Regions from separate parts of the Homo sapiens genome. Here region 2 is linked to region 1. The links are contacts of gene promoters, found by promoter capture Hi-C in human tissues and cell types (Jung and others, 2019). All regions are on one chromosome and are shown on one strand. The core of a region is centred on a gene start or on the middle of the fragment in contact, and the rest is flanking DNA. Distances in the headings are between cores, read along the strand shown.

Region 1 (6,171 bases), core at 391-2,890:
ACCCAAATCGTAGAATCTTTGATAAAACCCCAAGAGCACCACACAAACACATTCTCAATTGCTTTTAATATATTTTCCTCTGTAAAGGACAAAAAATGCTGTGCTTGAGGCAATAATCAGTGGCCTAGAATGATTTCTGAAGCTCTTGACTTTACCATAAAAGTTGTACTAAGACACTGATTGAAAATTACATTTCAAATATACCGCTCACTAAAGAAATGTCAACAAGCTCTGGGACCAACTTTGAGTTATTGTCCAAGGAAGACTAAAAATAGCCCCCCAATAGCGATTTAATTTTAAGAAAATACAAAAGTAGCTTATTTAGGAGTATTTTAATGAAGATGAAGAGAACTGGAAATCAGTGAAGTTTTCAGCAGCCTCTTCAGATAAGACCTACCTTAAATTGCCTTCAGGTGTGCACATTTTAACATCCAGTGAATTGCCTGGAGGTTGCCTGGGGTTTCTGCTGATTATAGCAGGCGGTGAAACCTGAACTAATAATTACGGCCAGGAGGTGAGAGCCCTTCAGGACGCCACCCTGGGCGCGCTCCCCGGGAGCAGCCCACCGCTTGCTGTGCTTCCATCAGTCCTTTATTAGGTAAAGGGTTTCCCCCCACCCCGGGTGCTTTAAGAATGCGTTTAATAAGAAATTTCTCACAGGATCTAACGGAATAAAGTGCCACCAAAATAACCTTTTCGCAGTTTTCGTAATTGTGATGGAGTGGGAAAGGGGACAAAGCCGTCAAACCGGGTGCCCGGTGGATCCGCGGACCTGATCTTCCTGCACGGACCCGAGAGAGAGTCCCTAGACGAGGAAGAGGGGAAAGGCATTTGTAGGGTGTTAACTGGTGGACTCGGGACCAGAGAGACAGCTGCGGATTCCCCTCGGGGTGATGCTCCGTGCAGGAGCGGTCACGGCGTCCAGAGGAACCCGCGGGTGCAAACTCCGGGAGCGGCTTGCAGGGTGACGGCGGCGGCCCCCGCTCCCCGGTACCTGATGATGTCGTCGCTGTGGCCCCGGTAGAACTTCTGCCTGTGCTCCCGCGGGCTGTACACCACGCCGACCCCCGCCACGAAGTATACGATCTCCTTGGCCGCAGTGTAGTAGAGGTTGTTGCGGCACTGGTGGCCCCGGTAGCCGTACACCCACTCGAGCCGCAGGTGGCAGCTCGGGGCGCTCCGGGCCGCCATGTCGGGGCGCCCACCCGCCGCTCCCGCTCGGGCCCGCGGCGGCGACGGGAGGCGGCGGCGGCCCGGCAACGAAAGCCCTCCCGCTGGCTGCCGGGACTTCCCGCCAGCCGCGTCCTCTAAGCCGCGCCCGTCAGGTGCATCTCGTTTCGGGGGCCGCCGCCGCCTCAGCCCACAGGCGGGAGGAAAACCCTCGCCTCGCGGAACATGCTGAGGGCCGCGAGCGCCGCCGGCTGTCAAGTGGATGCCCAGAGCCCTTCGCCCGCCTCGGCTCGCCTAGTCTCCTCAGCCCGTAGCGCCTGGGCCGAGAGCGAGGGCCCGCCTCCAGCTCCTCAGCCGCCGCCCGCGCACGCAGCTCCCAGCCCCGGTCACCTGCGGCGCTCGCGCCCCGCCGCGGCTTTGTAGCCACAGCCTGGCGGACCCGCGCCGCGCACCCCGAAACCGAGCGAGCCGAGCCGAGCCGAGCCGAGCGGCGGGCGCGCGGCCTTGCGTGGCCCCGCCCCCTCCCGCGCTCACTCCGCCCCTCCCGGAGCCGAGAAGAGGCTGGAGTTCGCGGGGCCACGGTCTAGTTGCGGAGTCGCTGGGACCGCGTCTCTGCAAGTGCGCGGGCCGGTGAGCCCTCCCTCGTTGAGCTGCTTAAGCCCAGGCGGACCCTCGGCGACCCCGGGCTCCCGCTGCTTTGCGTCCTCAACCGGGAAGCACCTGCCGGTTCCGCACGGTCCCTGCACCCAGCGTAGGCCACGTTTTTGCCTGGGAAAATCCACACCGGGATGCTAAATTCTCTTTTTTACGCTTGATACCTTGTGTGTCTTGCTGCCTTATAGTGCTTTCGGACCCAGACATTGGAATGATGCCGAGCTTCCTAAATGTGCTTTTAAATTATTATTTTTAGAAACAGAGCCTCGCTCTGTCGCCCAGGCTGGAGTGGAGTGGCGCAGTCTCAGCTCACTGTAGCCTCCAACTCCTGGGCTCCAGCGATCCTCCCGCCTCAGTCTCCGGAGTAGTAAGGAGTACAGTTGCGTACCACTATGCCCGGCAAATGTTTTGCTTTGTTTTTAAGTTTATTTTGTAGAGGCGGGGGTCTTGCTGTGTTGCCCAGGCTGGTCTCCACCTCCTGACCTTCAGCAGTTCTTCTGCCTCAGGCCTCCCAAAGCGCTGGGATTACAGGCCCAATCCACTGCTCCTGGTCCTAAGTGTATGTTTTCTTAAGTGACCGCAAAGCTGAAGGTAGACTTTAGATGGTAAACTGACATGTGAGATCTGATTTCCGAATAGCAAAAAAAAAAAAAATTGTACTTCGATTTTTTTAAAAATGACTGGGACATCACCAACAGTTACTCTTAATTAAATAAATTCAATTGTGATCCTGTAGAAAACTCCTGTAATAAAAGTATTGGGAACAATCAATTCCTGACTATGTCATTTCCCCTCCTACTCAGTTGTGTCCTCTTCTCACAGGAATATGAACAAGATTTATCAATACCTCTAAAAATAATTGGAAATCCACAATTTAAAAAGTGTTAAGTTCAGGATGGCCACAAGATTTACAACAAAAAAATACTAATTCAGGATATACCAATATGAACCCTTATTGTCTAAAAATTACTGTTTGATTTCCATAGGAAATACCAAGACAGAAATCTGACAAAAGCTAAAATAAACTACCATCGTTTCAAGAAATATGACTCCAAAAGGGGTTGACTCCTGTGTGGTACAGATATATTGGAATAGATGTTATCCAATGTCTACTTCCTCAAAGATGCCAGTTACTAACTTGAGACAGGATTACCGTTTCGTCTTTGATTATGACTTCTAATCTGCAAGCAGTTTACATGCAGGAAATAAAGGCCATCTGAAAGGAATTTACATAGATGTCATGAAAAGTAAACTCTGAAAGAGTTTCCATTCTGGGCAGAATCTGAAAAAGAGGAATAGCTTTCTGGCAGCTGCTGCAAATAAACAAAGAAATCAGGCCTGAGAAGTGGCTCTAAGGCCCATGTAGGGTACCCTGGGCAAAAGCACACACAGTTTCTCTTTGTCACCAGGAGGGCGTTTTCTGTTTTTTAATAAGAATATGTTCTAATTCACTAGTGAGTTCCTTGAAATCCCCTGGTGAGAAAAAGAAAAATTGTTGATTATTTAAATTCAAGCAGTGAACTTAGAAAACATTAAATATTTGTTGCTATACATTTGTGATATATTAATTACTGGTTACATGTAAATTTTATGAGACGAGATGGAAGAATATAGTTTTTTCTATGTTTCGGATTTTTCAGCACAATATCTTATGGATCCCATGATACACACTTAAGTACTCAGATTAATAAGAGATTTAAGTAATTTATTTTCCCATTATCATATTTTCCATTACGATTTTAATGACCCAAGTGTAGAGTGCGAAGCAAAAACATTCTTAATTAAACCATCCTCAACTGGCGACTCAAGACCAAAAGAGACAGCCGAGGCACAAAGGTGGCTAGAAAATGAACCATTCATGAATACTAGAGGAAGAAAAAAACAAACCTGATCAGTTCTTACCCTCACAACTTTATATAATCCAGTATTACCAATGTCACATCAGAAAGCTTAATGAAGCTTCTATTGCTAGGTGATATTCCATCATCTGTATCCTGTGAAAGTAATGCAAATAAGGATGTGGGAGAAAGAAACAAAAAATTATACACATCAACAAATGGACATTTGTTAAGCATTCCAGACGAAGGCTGCAATACCCCCTGTATTCGTCCGTTCTCATGCTGCTAATAAAGACATACCTGAGACTGGGTAATTTATAAAGAAAAGAGGTTTAATTGACTCACAGTTCCGCATTGCTAAGGAGGCCTCACAATCATGGTGGAAGGCAAAGAGGAGCAAAGTCGCACATGGCAGCAGACAAGAAGAATTTGCGCAGGGGAGCTCCATTTATAAAACCATCAGATCTCATGAGACTTATTCACTACCACTAGAACAGTATGGGGGAAACCACCCCCACGATTCAATTATCCCCACCTGGCACCACCCTTGACATGTGGGGATTATTACAATTCAAGGTGATATTTGGGTGGGATACAGCCAAACCATATCACCCCCTTTGGTAATCTAGTTCCTGAAACTTGAGTTCCTAGTATGGAATTTGAGATATTTGAAATATTTCTAAAATTCAGGCAAATAAATCATGTGCTGGCTACTGATTAGGTACCCTTAGGTTTATAAAGAAATCTAAGGCAAAATGTAGAAAACATAAAAACCAAAATTCCCCAGCCTGGCCAATATGGCAAAACCCCATCTCTACTAAAAATACAAAAAAAAGTAGCCGGGTGTGGTGGTGCAGGCCACCATCTCAGAAAAAAAAAAAAAAAATTCATGCAATTACTTCTAGCTAGCATGGTGGCTCTCACCTCTAATCCCGGCACTTTGGGAGGCCAAGGTGGGTGGTCAGGAGTTTGAGACCAGCCTGGCCAACATGGTGAAACTCCATGTCTAGTAAAAACACAAAAATTTGCCAGGCATGGTGGCGGGCGCCTGTAATCCCAGCTACTCGGGAGGCTGAGACAGGAGAATCGCTTGAATCCGGGAAGTGGAGGTTGCAGTGAGCTGAGATCGCACCACCGCACTCCAGCCTGGGAAACAAAGAGTGAAACTCTGTCTCAAAAAAAAAAAAAGTATATATATATTATATATATATTATATGTTATATATATTATATATATTATATATATATTATATGTTATATATATTATATATATTATATATATATTATATGTTATATATATTATATATATATTATATGTTATATATATTATATATATATTATATGTTATATATATTATATATATATTATATGTTATATATTTTATATATATATTATATGTTATATATATTATATATATATTATATGTTATATATTTTATATATATATTATATGTTATATATATTATATATATTTTATATATATATTATGTTTATATATTATATATATTATATATATTATATGTTATATATATTATATATATTATATCTCTTATATGTTATATATATTATATATATATTATGTTATATATATTATATATATTATGTTATATATAATATATATTATATGTTATATATGTTATACATATTATATGTTATATGTTATATATATTATATATGTTATATGTTATATATTATATATATTATGTATATTATATGTTATATATATTATATATATTATGTATATTATATGTTTTATATATTATATATTATATATATTATATGTTTTATATATTATATATTATATATATTATATGTTATATATATTATATATTATATACATTATATGTTATATATATTATATATTATATATATTATATGTTATATATATTATATATTATATATATTATATGTTATATATATTATATATTATATATATTATATGTTATATATATTATATATTATATATATTATATGTTATATATATTATATATTATATATATATTATATGTTATATATATTATATATTATATGTTATATATATTATATATTATATGTTATATATATTATATATTATATGTTATATATTATATATATTATATGTTATATATATTATATATATAATATGTATATAATATATATAACATATTATATATATATATCTGTAGTCTTACCTTTGATCAGCCTATTGTACATGCAGAGCCTACCACAGTGCCTGGTACTACAATAGCTGTTCCCTACATATTTATCAACCATGAATTAGAAAAGAAAATGTTGTGCACAATCCTATTGTGTTGTGCACAATAGGATTCCTCTTAGTTTTATCTTGAATACTTGAAATCTTTGAAAACTTGGAAGTTTTCTTTCTTTCCTTCTTTTTTTTTTTTTTTTTTTGAGACAGAGTCTTGCTCTGTCACCCAGGCTGGAGTACAGTGGTGTGATCACACTTCACTGCAGCCTCGACCTCCCAGGCTCAATTGATCCTCCTACCTCAGTCTCCCAAGTACCTGAGGC
Region 2 (5,997 bases), core at 1,969-4,468, 200 kb before region 1:
AGATGGCAGTAGTCCCCAAGTTGATCTATGGATTCAACTCAATCCCTGTTTAAACCCCAAATTGCTTTTTTTTGTAGAAATCGGCAGGCTGATCCTAAAATTCATATGGAAATAAAAAGGGACTGAGAATAGCCAAAACTATTGAAAAAGAGTAACGTTGGCAAGGTTATGTTGCTTGATTTCAAAACTTACTACAAAGCTAGAGTAATGAAGACTGTGTGGTACTGGCATAAGGATGACCATACAGACCCGTGGACCGGAATTGAGAATCCAGAAATAAATGCATACTTTCACAACCCATCAATTTTTGGCAGCGGTGTTAAGACAGTTTATTGGCAAAAGAATAGGTTTTTCCACAGGTGATGCTGGGACAACTGAATATCCACATGAAAAGAATGAAGTTGGAACCTTATCTTATGTCATAAACAAAAATAACTCAAAATGGATCAAAAACCTAAACTTCAAAACTCTTAGGGAAAAAAATAGATATGTCTTGGATTCCAGAATGATTTCTTAAATATGACACCAAAAGCACAAGCAACCAAAGGAAAAAAGATAACTCGGACTTCATCAAAATTTAGTATTTTTGTGTTTCAAAAGATACTATCAAAAAAAAAAAAGACAACAAAATGGGAGAGAATATTTAAGAAACACCTGTCTAATAATGGTCTAGTATTAAGCCAAGGCTGAGTTCTTATTTCCCCATCCTTAAGTTTACACGATACTATATTAGTGAAGTTGAATTCTGTCATTACCACATGTATCTTGAAAGAAGTTTGTGTGGATCACGGGTCCAGTTACTTTCTCCGCCCTTTCCCTCCAGAGGATTTGTCACTCTCAATAATGTTATATACTAATTTCAAGGGGAAATACAACTCAAAACAAATCAGAAATCTGAAGCTTAAAAATGTTATGGTTTAGATGATGAAAAGGGAAAAGTACATTTAATTCATATCATATTTAGATGTAAAGCACTTAATGTTATATTGCTTAACCTATAAAGTAGCGCTTCAGTGCTCTCATCATATGAAGTAAATAATAGAAAATTCTTTGTGTGACACATGTCTGTTTTCAGCCAATCAGAAACCAGGATTATTTTGTATGTAATAATAGGGTTTACTGGAAGAGGAGCTATACAGATGGTACTTAGAGGATGTAGGGCCCTACGTATTAGGGCTTCTTAGTTGTAGCGAAGAGCAATTGGTCTGGTACGTTTAGCTTTTTCACATTTAGTTTTGAATTCTGACTCTAGAAATGTACAACCCCATCTTTTGAATTACAGGTTTTAAGATGTTATTTGCTCTTAATACGTCTTAAGGTAACAGCCTTGATCACTGCTTTTACTTTCGATGAAATAACTTAATGAGCTGTGAAGAAAAAATTATCAGATTTTAAGGGAGAGAATTTTATGAAAATGTCTTTGAGGTTCCTGTCACCTTTATGAGAATGTCTTCAAAGTTTCCATCACCACCTCTACCAATTTTTCTTCCACCGGAGCCAGTGGACTTAGGTTCCATAACAAGCTCCTCTTGTTCACTGAATGAGCTAGACAATATTTCCCACCTTTTAAGGAAAATATCAGCTGATATCAATGAAATTAAAGGAATGAAAGCAGCTATTTTGACAGTGGAAGCAAATCTTTTTGATCTAAATGTTAGAGTGTCCAAGAATGAAGCAAAAATTTCATCTTTGGAGGTTAAAATGAATGAATATTCAACAACATATGAATGCAACAGACAGTTTGAAGATCAAGAAGAAGATACTGAATCACAGTCAAGAACTACTGATGTAAAAATAATCGGCTTCCTTAGAAACGTTGAGAAAGGTAAACTCTTAATATATGATATGTTCTAGGTACCCATCCTTTGATCTGTATCTTTCCACGTATGTTGACTGTAGCTCTGATGTGGAGGGAGCAAGTTACAGAGAACTTGAATTTTTCATGGACCTTTAATGACAAATTTGGATTCTGCTTGATTTAGCTTAGCAATCTAGAATTGATCAGAATTCCATCCTCTTTAATGGAGCTCTCTAAAACGATGTTTTGAAAAGACAGATGAACCTAGAGCAATGAAGCAAAACTTGAAATGTGGAAGTGTGGTCTTTCATGTGTCTTGTGAAATTATTTTAAAATGTCTCATTCTTTCATCATGTACTGTTGATGTGAAGGAGACCTGTTGCAGTATTTGGATGGAAAGAGCATTCTTCCTGTAACTTTTCACCTCAGTTTTCCAAGCTTCCCACAGGAATGCAACTTGACCTAAGTGTCATCTTCGTTACAGTTCCTCAGAATGTGTGTTTTTTTATGGTAATAATTCTGGAAGGAATTGACTTTTTTGGGACGCACCAGTAAAATTTCATATAACTTATGTTTTAAAGGAAACTAACTGATACAATTTCAAATCGAGTATAGGTTTTAAAATTTAAAAACACCTTTTAATGAAATGTGGTGCTTGGTGGGAGATGGCCCACTTAACATCTTTGCACTGAGTAAGCAAAGCCTGTCCTTGTGAAGCCACCTGTAATGGATATACCCAAAATCAGCATGTGGGCATCTTAGTAAGATTTCAGTATTTGCAACCCTATCAGTTACATCCCTTTGTACACTGTAGTGCAGTACCTTATAATGAGCAAGTGAGTGCCTGATGTCTGCTAAGCGCTGTGGGGGCTACAGAAAAGTGTGACATTCTCCCATCCTCAAGGAGCTTAACATCAAATCGAGGATGGAAAAAAATCAGTTCTTTGTCCCTATTTTGTGCAGTCAGACTGCTGGGCATATTATTGTTAGGAATAGTGAACCTAATAGGAATTAATGTTAGGAGCCTATTTTAGAAGAAATAAGTAGTTGAACATCTTTTCTTGTGGAAGAGGCAAAGAATTATTATCATGCTTTGCTAACATAGGGTGTGGATTGTAGAGCTGAGTGTCTTATTGTTTTCTTTGCATGCATCGAAGCCCAGAGTTTGTCTTTTAGGAACTCTTGTTTAGATGATGAGAGTGTTTTGTTTTGCTATTTCGATTATCTTCAAAGGTCATGAGTGAGTCGTGATGGTAAGAGCTCAGGTGATGGAGGGAGGTGCTTGCCATGCTTATTGTGCAGTTGGCTGTGATGCGAGCTGCTGGGCCACAAGGTGCCTTTTCCTGGATTTTCCACCCGTTTGCCACCTTTACTTTCCCCGCAGAATTCAAATTCAGGAAAACTGATGTCCTCATAGAGGGAGAACCAGGAGTGTTTTAAATTGGCATTTGTGGTTTAACCCTGAGTACAGCCTTTTTTGTCTTACAGGATATGTCTTTGGTCTATAAATACTATTAAATTGAATTGTTGAAGCTTTAAGTTACTTTTAAGACTTCAAGTTAAGAACCCAGAAGGATTGATTTTTGGGAACCACATGCTGGTATTGTCTGTGTTGTAAGCTTAGTGAAGTTTTAAAATTTATATTCTAGGAACTCAACAGAGGCAATTATTATCCCGACTGCAAATCGACCCAGTAATGGCAGAAACTCTGCAGATGAGTCAAGGTTGGTAATGTTTCAAGTTGTACTGTAATCCAGCCATTTCAGTTGCCATTTCCATTTCTTACACCCCATTTAACGTATCTCGGATCTCTTAGATCCTGCCCTAAGATGTTATATTTAGATCTGTGAAAATATTTTAGGGCCAGGAGATAAGATCTGCATTTCTTTCATGTTATATAGTGTTATAATTTTTTGCCTCATTGGAAAACTTTGTTCCTTTCACACCATTCCAAGTGTGTCCCTAGCACTGTCGGCTGTCACTCTCCTGCTGTCAGGAGTGACCTGCGTTTCTGATTTACCCTCCCACTCTACCCAGCTTTTGTCATTGCCATGAGTGGCTTTTGTATCCTGTTTTTCACCTGGTTAGCCTTATCCTCTTGTACTTCATTTTGGAGTCTTATCACCAGGGCCACACCTGGAACTTGTTGTTCTAGTGTTCTAGAGCCACTCTAGTTTGCCTGTCTCCTTTCCTCTCCCCACAGACACACATGCCAGGGGCTACTCCAGGACTGGAGCTGACGCCTTCATTTTTATTATCTCTGTCCTCAGTGCCCAGCCCCTGCCAGATGCATGTTCAATGTCTTAAAAATGACTGCAGGATAAACACAGGCAACCATGAGAGACCCGGAATCATCTCAGTCCTTCTGTTTCCCCTAAGTCTGTCTTTTGTGGGAAGCTCTGGTCCCTAGACCCCTCTCAGTCAGGACTCCACAGTCAGTCACTCTGTTCCCCGACCCTCCCCCAGCTTTCCAGCTCAGAAAGTGTGCTTTTCCTCCCTAAGGGTCAGCCTCCACCAGAGGCCAGATCCCACTGGGTTGGTGAGCCACTGGCATGTCACCCACTCCTCCAACTTCATTCTCTGCCTCCTGTCTTCTCTCTGTAGAGGTGTTCAGACATTCTCTGCCCGTGATTTTGCTCTCTCATCTCCCAGCAGTCCGTCCTGCTTCCTCCACAGGAGTATTTGAAAAGGTTGACAGCCGAGATCTGTGTGTGGGATCCACTTCATCAGCTCTTGTGCATGTTTTCTCTTCTGCCTCCTTCAGCTTTTCATTGTACCCATGGTGCACGCAGTTTGAAATAGCAAGTAGTTCTGTGAGGCTTATGAATGACTGCAGTCCTTAGCTCCTATCACATTTTTTATTCTAAGATCCCTTTGTTTCTGCATATTCTATTAATTTTCTAAAAACATACTGATTTTGTGTACACAATACTCTTTGTTATTTCTCTGTGGTCTGAAAGGTGGTTTTGACATTTTTCCCCTCCCTGCTTCGTCTTGTTTTCTCTAAGTGGTCTGTTTTGGCTGTCTTTTATGCTGGAGGTTCCCCTCTGATGTCTGGGGATCCTAGGTGGTCTTACATTTAAGAGTGGAGCACTCAGAAGGTCACTGGTATTCTGGGTTCATGAGTTGGGGCATGGGGCACTTTGACTTTCTGTTTGAAACTAGACCCTGTGGTGGAAAGTGATTTGTCCTGCCTGTCTGGTTTGTGGGCACCCTGATGTCACTGCCTTCAAGACTTTCCTCTCAGGCTGGTCAGCTTCTCCAAAACAAAGTTTTTCAAGTAATAGCCTGGTAGTCAGAGTTCTGCGAGCTTAAGTGGGGAAAGAAGGCTGGGGGAGGCACCTCACCATTAATTATTATGTAATGTTTATTTAACCCTCCCCCAACCATTGTCAGTCCAGTACTTCTTTCATCATGGCTGGTGTCTCTTGGTCCAGGGACTCTGTTCTTATCCTCTGAAGAGTCTAAAGCTCCACTTTCTCCAAGGGAGAATGCATGCAGTGGGTAAAGATTTATCAGGAAATCTAATTGCCTTTAAAAATTTTTAACAGTGTACCTTCAGGTGATTTTGTCGTAGCATCTTTCTGGCAGAGACCCTAATGCTTCATCCATAGGCCTCTCCGAAGATTATCTACAGGAAAGCACATCACCAGTCATCCCAGGTGTCTTCAGTGTAGAGGTCGGGATTGGTGTGGCAAGCATCAAAACCAAGAAAACAGTGGCCAGGTGCAGTGGCTCACGCCCATAATCCCAGCACTTGGGGAAGCCAAGGCAGGCAGATCACTTCAGGTCAGGAGTTCCAGACCAGCCTGGCCAACATGGCGAAACCCAATCTCTACTAAAAAATACAAAAATTAGCCAGGCGTGGTGGTGCACATCTGTAATCCCAGCTACTAAGGAGGCTGAGGCAGGAGCCTTGCTTGAACCCAGGAGGCGGAGGTTGCAGTGAGCTGAGCTCGCACCACTGCACTCCAGCCTGGGTGACAGAGCAAGACTGTCTCAAACAAAGAAAACAGATACATGGAATTAGAGTTGAAGAAGAACTAACTGCTTCTTGGACACATCTAATACACCTCTTTTTTGCCTGCCATTTCTTCCATTTCTTCCTAAGGTCCTTTTACTGCCAGTTCCTGAGCCTTTGGAGAATCTTGTGGTCTGAATTGGATTGCTTCATTATTGCCTTAGAATTCAGCTTTTAC

Evidence for each region. The method cuts DNA at HindIII sites, captures the fragments that hold promoters and counts their contacts. A contact is called where the count stands out against the background at its distance.
Region 2: a fragment that was not itself captured here is called in contact with the fragment with the promoter of EML5 in region 1 in 1 of the 25 tissues and cell types used here (IMR-90 fibroblasts).

The regions. Positions count from the first base shown.
Region 1 is chr14:88,791,313-88,797,483 of GRCh38, forward strand. It overlaps EML5 (EMAP like 5), which reads right to left and starts at 1,641. Exons shown (of 44, transcript NM_183387.3): 1 at 995-1,641. The coding sequence starts at 1,191. RefSeq lists silencers at 1,152-1,231, 1,422-1,781. The HindIII fragment of the contact is 27,448 bases long and covers 1-6,171 here.
Region 2 is chr14:88,593,287-88,599,283 of GRCh38, forward strand. It overlaps ZC3H14 (zinc finger CCCH-type containing 14), which reads left to right. Exons shown (of 17, transcript NM_024824.5): 10 at 3,448-3,522. Among named protein-coding and RNA genes, the nearest start is that of ZC3H14, 33 kb to the left of the region's middle. The HindIII fragment of the contact is 3,300 bases long and covers 1,569-4,868 here.